Regions from separate parts of the Homo sapiens genome. Here all the other regions are linked to region 5. Evidence: promoter capture Hi-C in human tissues and cell types (Jung and others, 2019). All regions are on one chromosome and are shown on one strand. The core of a region is centred on a gene start or on the middle of the fragment in contact, and the rest is flanking DNA. Distances in the headings are between cores, read along the strand shown.

The links. The method cuts DNA at HindIII sites, captures the fragments that hold promoters and counts their contacts. A contact is called where the count stands out against the background at its distance.
Region 1: a fragment that was not itself captured here is called in contact with the fragment with the promoter of BRINP2 in region 5 in 2 of the 25 tissues and cell types used here (dorsolateral prefrontal cortex and hippocampus).
Region 2: a contact is called between a fragment that was not itself captured here and the fragment with the promoter of BRINP2 in region 5, in 2 of the 25 tissues and cell types used here (dorsolateral prefrontal cortex and thymus).
Region 3: a fragment that was not itself captured here is called in contact with the fragment with the promoter of BRINP2 in region 5 in 1 of the 25 tissues and cell types used here (dorsolateral prefrontal cortex).
Region 4: a contact is called between a fragment that was not itself captured here and the fragment with the promoter of BRINP2 in region 5, in 2 of the 25 tissues and cell types used here (dorsolateral prefrontal cortex and hippocampus).

What each region holds. Positions count from the first base shown.
Region 1 is chr1:177,020,194-177,023,240 of GRCh38, forward strand. All of the region lies in intron 7 of ASTN1 (astrotactin 1), which reads right to left. Among named protein-coding and RNA genes, the nearest start is that of MIR488, 7.7 kb to the right of the region's middle. The HindIII fragment of the contact is 4,030 bases long and covers 1-3,047 here.
Region 2 is chr1:176,998,638-177,001,645 of GRCh38, forward strand. The region is part of intron 8 of ASTN1 (astrotactin 1); the gene reads right to left. Among named protein-coding and RNA genes, the nearest start is that of MIR488, 29 kb to the right of the region's middle. The HindIII fragment of the contact is 4,994 bases long and covers 1-3,008 here.
Region 3 is chr1:177,036,251-177,039,354 of GRCh38, forward strand. All of the region lies in intron 2 of ASTN1 (astrotactin 1), which reads right to left. Among named protein-coding and RNA genes, the nearest start is that of MIR488, 8.4 kb to the left of the region's middle. The HindIII fragment of the contact is 5,935 bases long and covers 1-3,104 here.
Region 4 is chr1:176,976,655-176,979,516 of GRCh38, forward strand. All of the region lies in intron 8 of ASTN1 (astrotactin 1), which reads right to left. Among named protein-coding and RNA genes, the nearest start is that of MIR488, 51 kb to the right of the region's middle. The HindIII fragment of the contact is 4,223 bases long and covers 1-2,862 here.
Region 5 is chr1:177,169,186-177,172,285 of GRCh38, forward strand. It overlaps BRINP2 (BMP/retinoic acid inducible neural specific 2), which reads left to right and starts at 1,773. Exons shown (of 8, transcript NM_021165.4): 1 at 1,773-2,547. RefSeq lists enhancers at 1,411-2,000, 2,001-2,589. The HindIII fragment of the contact is 8,375 bases long and covers 1-3,100 here.

The sequences.
Region 1 (3,047 bases), core at 74-2,573, 150 kb before region 5:
TTCTCTCCTTCCTTAGTGTATAAGTTTTCTATTCCTACAGTAAAAGCATACCACAAAGAAAGTGGTTTAAAACAACATACATTTATTATCTTACCAGAAGTTTAACATGAGTTTCACTGGGCTAAAATCAAGGCGTCTATAGAGCTATGTTGCCTTCTGGAGGCACCCGGGAGAATCTATTTTCTGTGTTCTTGCCTTTTCCAGCTTCTAGAGGCTGCTGACATTCCTTGGCTCATGCCTCCTTCCTCCATATTCAAAGTCTGTAATGGCTGCTTGAGTCCTCCTCACATCACCTCACTCTGACCTCCTTTTCTGCCTCCCTATTTCACTTCTAAGAATGCTTGTGATTACATTTTGACCACTCAGATAATCTTCCCCCCAAATCTCCCTGTTTTAAAGCCAGTTGTTTAGCAACCTCCATTCCATATGCATCACTAATTCTCCTTTGCCATGTAACGTGACACATTCACAGGTCCTGGAGATGAGAATGTGGACATTTTTGGGAGTGCATTATTGTGTCTCTCACACCTGGTGTTCTGAAGCATGGTGCAGGTGACAGGTAAACAGAGACTCACTTGGGGATGCTCTTAGGAAGGATGCCTGAGGAGAGCTCTGGCACCAGGAGGCTGCTCCTTTGCAGTGACTGAGCATCTGTGTTTGTGTGTTTGTGTGTGTGTGTGTGTAAAAGTACACAAGTGCACTGCACAGCTCCATGCATCCATATGGGCAGACCCCTCAGTATGGCTGGGAAAGCACATGTCCCAACACTATGACATTTCCAAGTAAGCTAGCTAGAGGATTTCAAAAATAACGTCGACTTGACTTGAAGCCAATTCCCACACTCAGCTCTTTGGAGAAAGGCTCTGGGATAGAGTGTGGGAGGCGATAAAGTTTCTTACTGATGAGCATGTGGGATGACCACATCACCAATGCTTTCCAATTCCAGCATTCATGAAAATGAGAGTCTTTGCAGTATTGTTTCTCAGCTGCTATCCAAAATGAAGATGCTGCACCTTAGTTTTGTCTTGGGGTTTGGGAGATTATTTTTAGTCTTCCTCTGTGTCTTTCCAATAGGAAATTCATTCATGGTCACAGACATTGAGAAGCTATTAGCAGGGGAGGGGCTTCCCAAAGTCATTTTCAGCAGGGATTAGAAATGAGACATCTGGAAGGGACTGAAGAGTTGATGGGAGAGCTTTGCTGTAGACAAGCAGCTTCCTGGCACATGGAACAGTAATGCTTAGTAATGGTTGTTTTTTAAATAGTTTTGAATGACAACTATGTTGGATCTGACATGTCTGGGGAAATTAAGCAACCTTTATAATCCCACCTTTGCAGATTTCATGATAAATAAAACACAGACTCTGCTTTAGGTAGCTGTGGGACTTTGGGCAAATCGTGTAACTTCTTAAGGAATTCAAATGTGAATGTAAAGCATAGAGGCAGTTTATCATTGAGACCCCTCCAAGCCTAAAGCACCAATCCCTTCTTTTCACATGTAACTGAAGGTGTGCTTCCTTTTCTTTAAAATCCAAGTAGGAGCATCCAAAGCTCCCCCCGGGGATCAAGCTTCTCTCAGAAGTGAGTTTAACAACTGAGATTGTCCCAAATCCTTCCAATCCAAGCCAGCTGGAGAACTAGGGTACCAGAGACTAGCTCAGTTGCATGGAGAGCCCCCACCTCTGAGATTAGCTCTTTTTAATTTCTCCCAAGCATACTAGCTTTTGGGCATGGTACACAGCCCATCTGTTTGGTTTGGTGTTTGCCTGACAGCGTGGGAGGAGCAGCAAGTAAGCACAGTCTTAGACTTCAGATGTTTAAAATGTTGTACTTTCTCCTCCATATGGGGGCCTAGAATCTCTGTGATGGGCCCACATAAAACAACTTTAACACCTAAGATGGTGAATTTTAGATGTTTCAGTTACCTGCTACTCTCCCAGAGGGATCTAGTCATAGATTATAACAGAAGTAAGGGCTAGATATCTTAGACTCATCCTCTATTAAGATCTCTCTACCTCAGCACCTGAAGAAGATGCGAGTGTGGTGGGCTGGGGTAGAGGGGGTTGGCGGGGGGTGGCTGCACATGCTGTACAAAAAGCTTCAGGGTTTGGGCCCCAACTCCAGCAACGTTTAGCTTGGGAATCTTAGATATCACTTTAACGCTTTCCTTTGCTCTAAGGGATCATACTACTTTGGGAAGGATCTATTTGTGGTACTCAATTTACCAAAAACAAGCCATCATAGAGACTACTGTAGGTGAATGTCTTCTTCAGTGAAAGTGCAAAGCAAACTGAAATAAGAGATCCATGCTCCTGGCTTTGTTGGAACCCAAGGAGCAATGGGAGAGCTCTAATTCATGCCACACTAGAATTTGAACCCTCCCTCAGGGAAACCCCAGCTCCATTTGATAGTATAACAGACTTGAAGACGTTCCTACTCTTTGACCCAGTACTCTCTCACTAAGATTTATCTGAAGAAAATAACTTCAAATGTGTCCAGCATTTATGTGTAAAGATGTTCATTTTAATAGTATTTATAAAAATAAAAATTTAAAGCATCCTAAATGTCAAATAATAGGGGACTGTTTAAATGAGCTATGATATAGACATACAACGGAATACCAAATGGCCATTAAAATTATGTGTTTGAGGATTATTTAATGATTCTGGAAAAGTTATGATGGAATGTTAAGTGAAAAAAGCAGGAGAACTCTACTAGACTTAGTATGCTTCTAGGAAGCCCTTAAAAATCATGCATAGTAAAGAGACTGGAAGGGAGGACATTAAAATTTTAAAAGTGACTTATCCAGGAGATAGAAATATTGATGATTATCATTTTCTTCTATAAACTTTTCTAATTTTTAAAAAGTTTTCTACAATAAACATGCATTAATTTTATCATCATAAAATGTCTAGCCCCAGTATTTAAATATCCCCTGACTATGGGATAAATGGGTTATGGAAGTCATCCTAAAACTGAGTTTTCTGGCTTGGGACTACAGTTAGTATCCTTCCAAGTCTTCTGCCAGAAAATGACCACAGTTTTAG
Region 2 (3,008 bases), core at 250-2,749, 170 kb before region 5:
CTCTAGAGGGAACTTCACCCACCCGACCGCTGTGCACACAGTGAGCTCAGCTGTCTGACTCACATTACCCCGCATTTCAAAGGAGGATGTGAGAGGGAGAGCAAGACATAAAATGGGGGCCTCTTGTCACCCACAAAACTGCTTATCCATAGAGTGTACTGCCTTCTGTGCCAGGCGGCACCGTGACGGTTTTAGTGCATGGACTCCAGTCAGAATGCCTAGGCTTGAATCCCAAATGATGCCACTTTCTATGGGTGTAACCTTTGGGCAAGGTACCAAACTTCCTTGTGCCTTAGTTTCCTACCTATAAAGAGGGGATAGCCTCACATAGTTGTGGTTAGATTAAAATATGTAGAACTCTTAGAAGTGTGCTAGGCACAGAGTAAACTGACAGTAAATTATTACCTATTATTATTGTCTTCACCTTCACTTATCAAATAAAAAACTATTGAGGGTCCTGCCATCAGAACTCCTTTTAAAGCAAGACTCTAAATGACATAAAACTACATGGCTTAGAGAAAGACAAGGCCTAAGAGACACATGGAGACTGTGGAGGCAAAATCTCAACAGCTTTGCCTTCTCCAGAGAAAGAGGATGGATCAATTCTTTAAAACAATAAAGAATCCAAAGATGTCTAGGAGCTACAATCGATTCACTAACAAGACAAAATCCCAAGCTAGGGCCATGGCCATTTATGGAGACTTCTCCAGGTTGGCACTGATGTCATCTTTGATTTTTAGAAAAGCATGCACTAACTGGTTTAGAAAATGTATTAAATGCCCCTTCTGGTCCAGACAGGATGAAATCTTTGAAATGGACTAGATGGAAATATGTTCAATGATCATCAGTATACTTGATGAATTCATGTGGAATTGAACAAGCATAGCCAAGAAGTTTTGAGTAAGGGGTTAAGTTCAACCTTCAGGAAGATCTCTAAGTGAAGCAGGGCTTGATCTTGCTTTCTTTAACAATTTTGTCAGTGACTTCGAGGTGACTGAAGGTGATATGGTTTGGCTGTGTCCCCACCCAAAATGTCATCTTGTAATTCCCAAAATACACACATGTCAGTATGGGGAGGGACCCGGTGGGAGGTAATTGAATCATGGGGGCAGTTTCCCCATATTGTTCTCGGGATAGTGAGTGGGTTCTCACAAGATTTGATGGTTTTATGTGTCTGGCATTTCCCCTGCTGGCACTTATTCTCTCTCCTGCCACTGTAAAGAGGTGCCATCCACCATGTTTATAAGATTCCTGAGGCCTCCCCAGCCATGTGGAACTGTGAGTCAATTAAACCTCTTTTTGTATAAATTACCCATGCTCAGGTATTTCTTTACAGCAGCAAGAGAATGGAGTAATACGAATGTATGTTAATTAAATTGGCAAATTACATAAAGAAGAAGGGATAGCTAATACATGGGATCACAAAGTCAAGATTCAAAGGATTTCAATGGGATAAAGCTAAAATTTAATATGATTTTATATAAGACCTATACCTAGGTTAAGAAGACAATTGACTTCAGTCTTGAATACACTTTGCCTTTTTGACAACAGTTCCTGCAGGAAAGATCTTTAATTGACCACAAACTTACTATAAGCAAACGTCATGACTTTTCTTAAAGATCCTAGCACAAGCTTAGCTTAGAATTCACTAATAGAAAATACAGGGGAAGAAACAGGCATGCCATATTTTACATAGTGATTTGAACAGTCCTGGGCAACATAGTCTAAAAGGCATAATGACAAACTAGGGACATGCAAAAGACAGCTAGTAGGATCTTTAAGAGACTCATAAAACTTATGATCTAAAGAATAGTTGAAGGAACAAGCTCTATTTAGAAGAGAAGAGCCAGCAGAGACATCATCCTATACACAATTATCTGAGACATTAACATGTAGCCAGCCTGTATATAGTGGTCCTATTTGCTCACAGACGTCTATCCCACACTTTACAGTAGATGAGTATATTTTTCTAATGCACACAAAGGTACTATATATGGCAGCAGTCCTGAGCGTAGAAGTAGGAAATCAGCATATTCTTTATTGCTCCAAAGGACGGAGCTGACCAAACAAATGCAAGTTACAGGAAAACATATTTTTGCTCAGCCTAAAGAACTGTCTAAGAATCTGCATTACAATGATGGAATGAGTTGCCTCTTCAAATAATGTAGCCCACATTACCAAGAGTGTTCAAACAGTGGTTGGGCAGCCATCTGATGAAATGGCTGTAGGAGGGATTTCTACAATGGGTGGCAGATTGGATATTATGACCTTGAGGTGGGCTTCCACCTCTATGTGTCTAGAATTGTCAGCGATTCAGCTGGTATTCCTACTCTTACTTCCTGAAATTAGGGAGGTGATTCACCACTCCATGAGATAATTTAAAGATCCAATTAGGTTCAGAAAACAGAGGTCTGTGGATGTTCTGCCCAAACCACCCCCAGACTTGGTAATACTTGAAAGGTGGTAGCTACTATTATTCTTAGGTATTGCTTATGAAAGACCATGGGAAGACAAACACATTTCTTATTTAGCAAGTACTTCTGGAACATCCACTATGTTCCAGACAGTGTATTAAGGTATGACAGTGCAATTTTACATAAGAGACATTGTTTCTGCCTTCATGGAATTTACATTCTAGAAGTAGGTTACTCTAAACTCAAATGCCAAATTGACATTAAGGTTGACATCATTTGGTGAAAGTTCAAAGAACACAAATGAGGCTGTGACCAATGCAAAGCATCATCAATGTGAACAGGCCATCACTTATTGAGTACCTACATACTTCATGTAATATTATTGAGCACAACTCATCTCATTTAGGTTTTTAAAATAATCTTTATAACAAATCTATGAAGTAGATACTATTATTCTCATTTTTAAGAAATAAGGCTCATAAAGGTTATGAGGCTAGCCAAAAACACAGGGCTTTTAAGAAGATGAAATGAGATTTGAATCCAAGTCCATCTGATTCCAAGGTTGTGTTCTTCCCATTACGTTCTGCTGCCTCT
Region 3 (3,104 bases), core at 602-3,101, 130 kb before region 5:
TGTTGAGGCTGGTCTCAAACTCCTGACCTCAGGTGATCCACCCGCCTCAGCCTCCCAAAGTGCTGGGATTACAGGTGTGAGCCACCGTGCCCGGCCGACCTCAGCTTTCTAATAATCAGTTACCAGGAATAAGCTTCAGCCAATAGGTAAAACTCAGCACAAGCATTTGAAAAAGGATTCTCAGGTACTCAAGTTGTGGTATGGGTTCTCTGCTTCTGTAACTCAAATTGGTGACAGATGTCAAAATACTTTGCAATGGCTTACTAATTGTGGACTATTACATAAATAATAATATACTGTAATGTGATGTGACATTAATATGTGACATTATTTAATAATATTTTGTAATAATTATTTGTAAAATCACTACACATAAATTTCTCTGAAATGCTCTACCTGCTTGAGCAGGTAGCACGTAGGAAGAAAATATAGGCCCACCACTACACTAGGAAAAGGCAGGGGTCTAGCCACTTTGGTAACTGTCCTTCTACAGTGAGGACTTGGCTCACATTCAGTTACTGTTACATTTTTCAATAAACCATAGGTCTTGGATAATTTCTTTCTTTTTTTTCTTTTTTTCTTTTTTTGAGACAGGGTCTCACTCTGTCACCCAGGCTGGAGTGCAGAGGTGTGATCTTGGCCCACTGCAACCTCCATCTCCCATGTTCAAGTGATTCTCTCACCTCAACCTCCCAAGTAGCTGGGATTACAGGCATGCACCACCATGCCTGGCTAATATTTGTATTTTTAGTAGAGACAGGGTTTGACCATGTCGGGGAGGCTGGTCTCTAACTTCTGGCTTCAAATAATCCACTTGCCTCGGCCTCCCAAAGTGGTGGGATTACAGGTATGAGGAACTGAGCCCAGCCAATTTCATTATTTTTAATCTTACTACTTTTGCAGAGAATTTTAAGCAGTTTCAGTAAATATCATGGATACTGTAGGATTTTCCTTTCAAAGAGTCTAGCGAAATGAAAAGGGGGCAGATGGAATGGAAAGAAACCCTAGGCCAAAGACTATGGCTGGAAGCATCCTGATAGCCAAGTCGAAAAGAGAAAGGCGAGATGCACATATCTCACACAGCTTATTGGGAGCAACAATTGTCCTCTGGATTCTCAGCTCCAAAAAGACCTCTACTCAACATCTGCTCATGAGCACACTGAGAAACAGAATGGGCAGTTATCACACACACAAGGCTTTACAGAGAGCATACAGAAGTTCTTCACATGCACATGTCTTGCTTTGAGTTTCTGTTTTACCCTAGCTGTGTTCAGAAAGTATTCTTCATTTATTTGTGTTAGCTCCAATTTTTATAGCCATTGGAAAAACAAAGACAAAACATTACAGTATATCTGGATTCAGGCAACAAGTAACAAGTTGTAAACTCTGAACATTAAAAAAGAAACACTGACTGTAAGCACTGGCTGCAAAACATGGAATTGCTTTGCTCATTATTCATCTTTGCATGAATTTTCTGATTATTCTATTGATTTTTTTCTCAAAACTGTTAACATTTGGTAACTAGAAGTGTGTTTGGGGTATATGAGAAACCCACATCTATTAACGAGTTCCTTGCAAAAAAATGTGGCATTTTAAAATACATTTTTCTTTTTAAAAATCAATAAATCATTTCTACTGGCTGTAATAGATACCACACAAATGAAGTCAGCTTTTATTTTATTATGAAATTGACATTTTCAGCACTTACTTAAGAGAATAGTATGAGATTTGTCAGATAATTTGTAGATTTTAGAATTTTTATGTAACAATGTGTTACATAACATTTTTGGTAATTGCCGAAGGATGGAAAATTCTAAGCAGATCTCTCCTTTATGCTTATCCCAGTCCTCTGGACCAACCACAAGACTGTCTCATTATCTGACCTGTATATTCATCCTGGGTCCTGGGTCATACCTCCCTCCTTCAGCTAACTCCTACTCATCCTTCAAAGTCAGTTCAGTGACACGACTTCAGCTAACCCTTCTCTAGTCTCACTGCACTTTCCATAGAACCCTCCACATAACTCTAACCACAAGTACATTTACCTTTGATTTTCTTGTCTATCTCATTTGCTAGACTATAGGGGGCAGGGGCCATGGGGCAGAGGCCATGTCTAATCTATCTCTTTTATAGCTCCAGGTTAAAACGCAGCGCCTGGCATAAAGCAGATGGTCAATAATTGTGGGACAGAGGAAGGAAGGGAGAGGAGAAAGAAGAAATAAAGAGGGAGGAAGGAAAGAAGGAAGGGAAGGAGGGAAGCAAAGAGGGAGGAAGAGAAGGAAGAAAAAAGGAAGAAAAGGAAGAAGCATCATCAACTTTCAATATATTTCAATATGGTCATCTTCTCTGTGCCTACAAGCTAATCTTATATAAGTCAGCTGCTTGGGTGACTCATTTATTCAATTTATTACTAAATCATTCAATAAACACTTACTGATACCTACTTTAGCAAGGCATTTTTTTTCAGTGGTCACTGTTATGAAGATAATGCGGTGAATAACACACGTATGGTTCCTGATCTCATGGAGTTTATATTTTAGTTAAAGAAATTAATCTACATAATTTGGTTTTTAAAGATAAACACAGGCATAAAAGGAAGACAAAAACAGATCACAGGTGCTGGCCCATCATTACTTCTCTTCTTCAAACCAAAGAAACTGGTAGATGAAGATATCTTGGGCTAGAGGTAATACTCTGGTAACACCCCCATGGACCAGTGGAATCCTTCTCAAATCAGTGTCACATAATCAATAAATCTTCGAATAAAAGAATCTGGATCTATTAAATGTCACCAAGTTTAGAGAGTCACCTGGGCTTTCTGAACCCTTGGCAGAGAAATGGAAAAGCTGAGATTATGCTTCCAGCTACCATCTGTCAAGAGACTACAGCCAATCAATCAGCTCACATTTCAAAGCTTACTTTTACCTTAGGAGTAAGAAGAAGAGGGAATCTGAGACAGAATTAATTACTCCTCAAGGCAACTAGACATACTGAATTCAAATTATATTCCTTGAGGAATTAAATAGTGGTTACAAAATAGGAATCACATACAAGAGTTTGGTAGCTCATGTCTCCTGTTTTGTCTAAATACCAATGACCCAAGG
Region 4 (2,862 bases), core at 64-2,563, 190 kb before region 5:
CTGTAAAATGGTGATAATAGTAACTACTGTCTTCCTCCCTCCACTTCTCTCTGGTTCTGCATCTCAAGGCTCAGTTGACTTTTACCCTGGGCTCATATAGCCAAGGTCTCAAGTTCAGTGGTCCTGAAAGCTTGTTCAGCTCGCTTACTCCCGTCAATGGGCACAGTCTGCCATGTGTCCCCGGACACCCATCTTTGCTCACAAATGAACAGGACAAGAGCTTGGCAATGGACCTGTGCAAATCCATCCCTGTACAAGAAAAACAGTTTAACACATATTCACGACTGAATGTTACATCCCTGTACTAAGTACGGTGCAAACCTGGGGCCTCCTCCTCCACCACAGACGCTCACATTAAATTCCAGTGACAAGGTAGGAGAATGAACAGTACTAGCACAAGAGACAGTGAATAATAAGGGACAGGATGTACAATAGAAAACATAGCTTCCTACATTTCTGTGATTTTATGTCAGGAAAAATTGACAAAATAAGGAAACCGGGGAAGAATAAAATATCCATTAAGGAACTATATTTAGTATAGAGCTTTTATCCTTTTCCCAAAGTCTTTTTCTATCTACTAATCTGTTTAAATTCAACATATATTTAGCAAGTTTCACTATTAATTCAATCACTCATTCATTTCTTCATTTATCTGTTTACTTAAAAAATATTATCCAGTTTCCATATAAAAAAACATTTGGCTAAATACAGTCAAGGGACACAGAAATGATTAATACACATTTTCTGCTATGAAGAATGTCATTAACGCACTGATTCATTCCTCAAGTGTTTATCACTCACCTCTGATGAGACAGGTGCTATGGAGAGCACTGGGCTACACAGATAAAAGGCCGGGTCCTTGTCCTGGATCAGGAGCCGATGAAACAAGGATGGCAAGTAGAGAAACTATGGCATTTATTTTGTCAATTTTGATGATTGAACAAGTAAAAGCTATTACTTTTTATGCATTTATACTAGTCAGTGAGCCAAGTACTTTTTTTCACTTAATTCTCATAAGACCCTCTGAGGCACAGCTGTTATATTAGTCTTATTTAACAGGTGGGGAAAGTGAGGCCTAGAGAAATTAAATAACATAAGCCAAAGTCTCATAGCTAACAAGCAGCAGAGCCAGGGCTCAAGCCCAGAGCTCTCAGACACCAGAACCCTGGCAAAGACGTCTGTGAGTTATCAGTACCCACTCCTGCAGAAGAACTAAGGAGAGTCACTGGGCTGCACTGGCTGAAGGCTAATGACTTGGGGTGACATCCTCATTTCCAGGCAGGGTGGAAGAGATCGCAAGTGAAATGGGAGTGAGTGGGTTCAGAGGAAGAAGAAATCACATCCTGTTCAAGGGTCATGGAAAAGGCTCAGTCAGGAAGAGCTATTTTAGATAAGCTTTAAGCTTCGAAGGATGCACTGAGTCTAGGCATTGAAGGTGCAGAAGGAAGGGAGGTTTGCTGCAGAAATAATAGTATGACCAAAGGCATGGAGGTGGGTGGATGTGATGGAACATTACAAACAGCAAAGGTACCAGTTCATCTGAAATGTGGGATACACAGGGATGGAAAAAATAAATTAAAGCCATAACATGATGGTACCTGAAAGCAAATCTATACTTGGGTAGCGAATGGGGAGCCACTGATGGGCTTTGAATACAGGAAGATAGCACCAAGATTTTGCTTCTGTGAAAGCAAGATAAATGGGAAAGAGAAACCCAGAGGGAGAGGAACCAGTAGAGAAGCCTTTTGCAATCAAGGTAAAATGAGTACTTAGGATCTGAATTCAGTGGGAAGACGTGGATTTGGAAGAGAAGGGCAATTCTTAGGCAGAATTTCTTGGAAGATATTTTAAGCAGTGGTCGAGGAAGAGGAAATAGTGTAAGATGGCCTCAGAGTTTTGAGCTAGAAGGACTAGGAGAATGATTTTGCCATGAATAGAAACAAGTAGTTCCAGAGGATGATTTTATGTGTGTGGGGGTAAGGGGAGGGTCTAGTGGGGCAAGAAATGATAAGGTTGAACTGAAAAGGCTGAGTGTTATCTGTGAACGTCTGGCAAGGTGTGCGGCAGGTAGCTAGCTAAGCAGAGCTGACATTTAGAAGAGAGGCAAGTACAAAGATAAAGACTGGGAGTCAACATAAAGGACACAGAAACAGAAGACAGTAAAAGCAAGTCCAGTGACTGATCACTTAATATTCCTATTGTATAGATAAACTCACTGAGGCTCAGAGAGGCTGAATTGCCAAAAATCATACCTAAGAGAAATGAGGAAATATTCACTCATTTGTTCAGAAAATATGCATTCAGCAGCTGGCATGGCCAAGCTCTGTACTCTGGGGATACAGAGGTGAACAGAAGCAAAACTGATGGGGGTCTGTTAAAGGGAGTTCGTGAATATATAACCACACGTTGAGGAAAGTGCTCTGAAGAAGGGAAACAGTCCTGGAGCATGTATGGTGAAGGGGAGCCTCTCTGAGAAAGTAAGGGTTAAGCCCTGGGCTATAGGGGGATCATGGAACTTCCATGCTTTAAATCCTCACCCTGGTCATCAAGACTCCTGCATGCTCTAGCCCTTGCCTACCACACCAACCTTGCCCATTGCCTCTCTCTCCCTGTTATGATGATGTAGCAATGGTGGCTATCATCTATGATGATAAGAGCAATGGTGGCTGACAGTCCCTAGAAGGGGCCTGGCTTTCTCCCATTCCAGGGCCATCCAGGGTGCCCTAGGCCTGGAAAGCTCTTTCCCTCCCTTCTGACCTGGTTGGTCCTTTCTCATCTTTCAGTGTCAACTTAAACACACTGCCTCAGAGAGGCCCCGGTTCCCCCATTTCAGGTTAGTCCACTCCTCCCTGTCTTTTTACC
Region 5 (3,100 bases), core at 523-3,022:
TCTCCCTCTATTTACCCACTCCCTTATGCTATTTTAACATTTCAGTATGTTGTCACTTGGGACAAGTTCAGTGGGTCTCTGCCTCTAGAAATCACAAAAGTAAATAACTCAGCAGTTGGGTAGCAATAGATTTAGGCTCTCAGTGGTTCTCTTGGTTATTTTATTCTAGAAAGAGAGCTCAGGACCCTGTGGGACCACCATTCTCTGACATGTTTTGTAGCTTAGGCAAACAGATACTTGCAGTATGCAGAAGGAAGTTCAACGTTGTATAAGATACAGAGAAGAAAATATAGGTGAAAGTGATAGATGTGTGAGTCTGAGGGGATGAATGAAGAAAATTTCTAATTTTTCTTTATTCATTCAGAACTTACGGCTACTTGATGCAGTTTAGCTAATCTCCATGTGTACTTCTTACACATTCATTAAATCTCTACATACTTTTTTTTTCTAGTTCTTTACAAAATAATCTCCGATGTTGCTCTCCATTTAAGGAAACTAAATTGAAAGACTCCTCTCGCTTTCTGACTATATATTTATCTTCTTCATACTTCCCCCACCACATGACTTAGCATGGATCTCCCAAGTTCCTTCCCCAGCTCCAGCCCCCAGCTCTTCCCTTGAATTGGATTTTTCTTCAACTATTACTCTTTTTCCTATGCTCCTGCCAAAATCTAGTTTAGTATGCTAGTTAGCGGGACATGTTTCAGTTTTGTACCCTCATTAGGATATCAAAAATATATACTTCACACTTCAATGTAAAGTTAATATTTTCTTCCCTTCTCCTTTCCTCCCTTTTCCCTCCACCTCCCTCCCTTTTTTCCTCCCTCCCTCTCTTTCAATTCACAGGCCCAGCAACAGCACCTGCTTCACAGAAACAAGGCTGGTCCTGTTCTGATTTCTCTAGTCTTCCTTTAAAAACTAAACGGAGATGCACAGTCCCTCTTCCTGACACACACAGAAGTGAAAGGAGACACACAGAGGGAAAACACCACAGGCAAAACAATTCCCTTTTTTGGAGGGACATTTTTGAAACTTAATCTCTCCCCAGAAACCTGAAGTTCTCCTCTTTGCCTTTGTCCTTACAGTCCTGGTGTGGGGGCAGAATGTTTCCTGATTTAGCTGTCCTGGCCTCTAAATCTGTTTCACTCTCTAGCCATCTTACTGGGTTCTTGCTCTCTTTTGCCTCTCTCTCCTCTTGGGTCTCTGGGGTGTGTGTGTGTGTGTGTGTGTGTGTGTGTGTGTGTACTATTTCTCACTTGGGGGCTCATTTCTAATTAAGTAATCCAAGAGGCTAAAAAATGCACAAAACAACCAAATGAAACCTCAAATTAGATGGAAAATGGCTCAGATGGGTCCCAATCTCTGGGAGTTCTAGTTAAGCAAGCAAACAAAATGGGCTGGGATAAATGATTATTGTAACTCAGGAAGATTAGAAGAAAATGTAATTAGCTCCCCAGCTACTTCTTGTTCCCCAGCCTTTTTAAGAGTGTCCAACGCCCCACCCGTGAATGTACCCAAGGCTTCCTTATACACACCAAAAAGTCCCCACTGCAACGCTGGGAGGGTTAACAGAGCTGGTACCCCAGCCTGCCAGCTCACCAAAGGAGAGAGCGGTGAGGCTCAGAGCCCGCCCCCTGCCAAGCCGCCCAGCCAATGGGCACCTGTGGGGAGTGTGGCGCTGTGTCCCATTGGCTGCCAACCTACATGCATAAGAAAGAAAGAGAGAGGCAGGCAGGGCAGCATTGTTATCTTAAGACACTCATCTGGTGTCTGAGTCTGCAGGTGACACTGCTTAGGTACGGAGCGCGGAGTCGGAGCGGGGACGCGCCGGGCTGCAGCTCTGGGATGCAATCCGCCTGCCTCGCAAGCTGCTCGCCGCTGCGCTGGCAGCGCTTACGCTGAGCTCGGAGGATCCCATTAGGACTTGCCCGGGGATGTGCACCTGCCGTGCGCTCCGAGGTCAGTGGCAGGTCTGCAGGCAGCCGAGGGAGCGGTGAAGCCGGAAGACCTGTCTCTGCCCATGTGCAAGGCAGTGATTTCGGGTGAGAGAGCGGGTGGGTGAGTCTCTTTAGAGTTGGAAAGAAGGCAAAATCTTGGGTTTCTCCTCGGCGGAGGGACAGGGGACTCCCCCAGTTGGGTCTTGCACTTCCCTTACCTCTCCCACCCCGCGTGCGCCCCGGCCCAGTGCCGAAGCCCCACTTCAAAGATGCTCTGGGAGACCGGGATCCTGGCTGCTCAGCGGGAAGGCAGCAGGCAAGTGGTCTAACGTTGGCGGCGGTGGCGGTGGCGGCGGCGGCGGCACCGACAGTAAAGCGGGGAGCAAGAGAATTTGAAAAGAGACATCCGCTCCCTCTCACACGCTGAGGGGGAGGCATTCGCGTTTCCCCAAATGAGAAAGAACCACAAGAAATCATGAAGTAAAAACTTTGGAAAGCTGCCACTGGAGATGTTGCACAAAAACCTGGAATCTTTTAGGAGTCTCCTCCCAGTCGTTGAAGGTTTGGGGAGCAGCTGATACAGCAAGGAGGGCTCTTGCAAGGATTCAAGGTAACAGTGCAGGGTTTCGGTGATTTTTCTCCCCTTTTCATTGTCCTTTTTGGTGTGTCCGTTGGTAAAGGGACCATTTTGCTCTCATACAACCCTCTTGCCCTGGTGCCTGGCAGTGGCAGGCAGAGGGAATGATGCCACCTCTCCTAGTTTCTGTCTTGTGGAGTTGAGCAATGGACTTTGGGGTTGAGCTAGAGATTGCTCTGGTATTGCCTCCTGGTGTTGCATGGCTGTCAGAGGGTTTGGGCTCCCTGCCTGACCTATATTGCTTTTGCCTGGTTTAAGTCCTCAAAGTTAGTGCAACTCCTATTAGCTTCAGAAAATTCAATAGGGCTGCATAATTGCAGAAGATGACGAGGACTTTTGCCTGCCCAGCTGACGCTGGGAGGTTCATTATGTTTGGGAAGGAGCCCAAAGAGCTGAGGTTACAATGCACGATATCTATATTATCGTGCTCATAGAGCCCTATGGCATGTTTCCCATGCACATGCAGTCAGGAAAATAAAATTCCAAACAGTGAACCCTGTAGGTTGCAAATAGTCTCCCCAGGGTG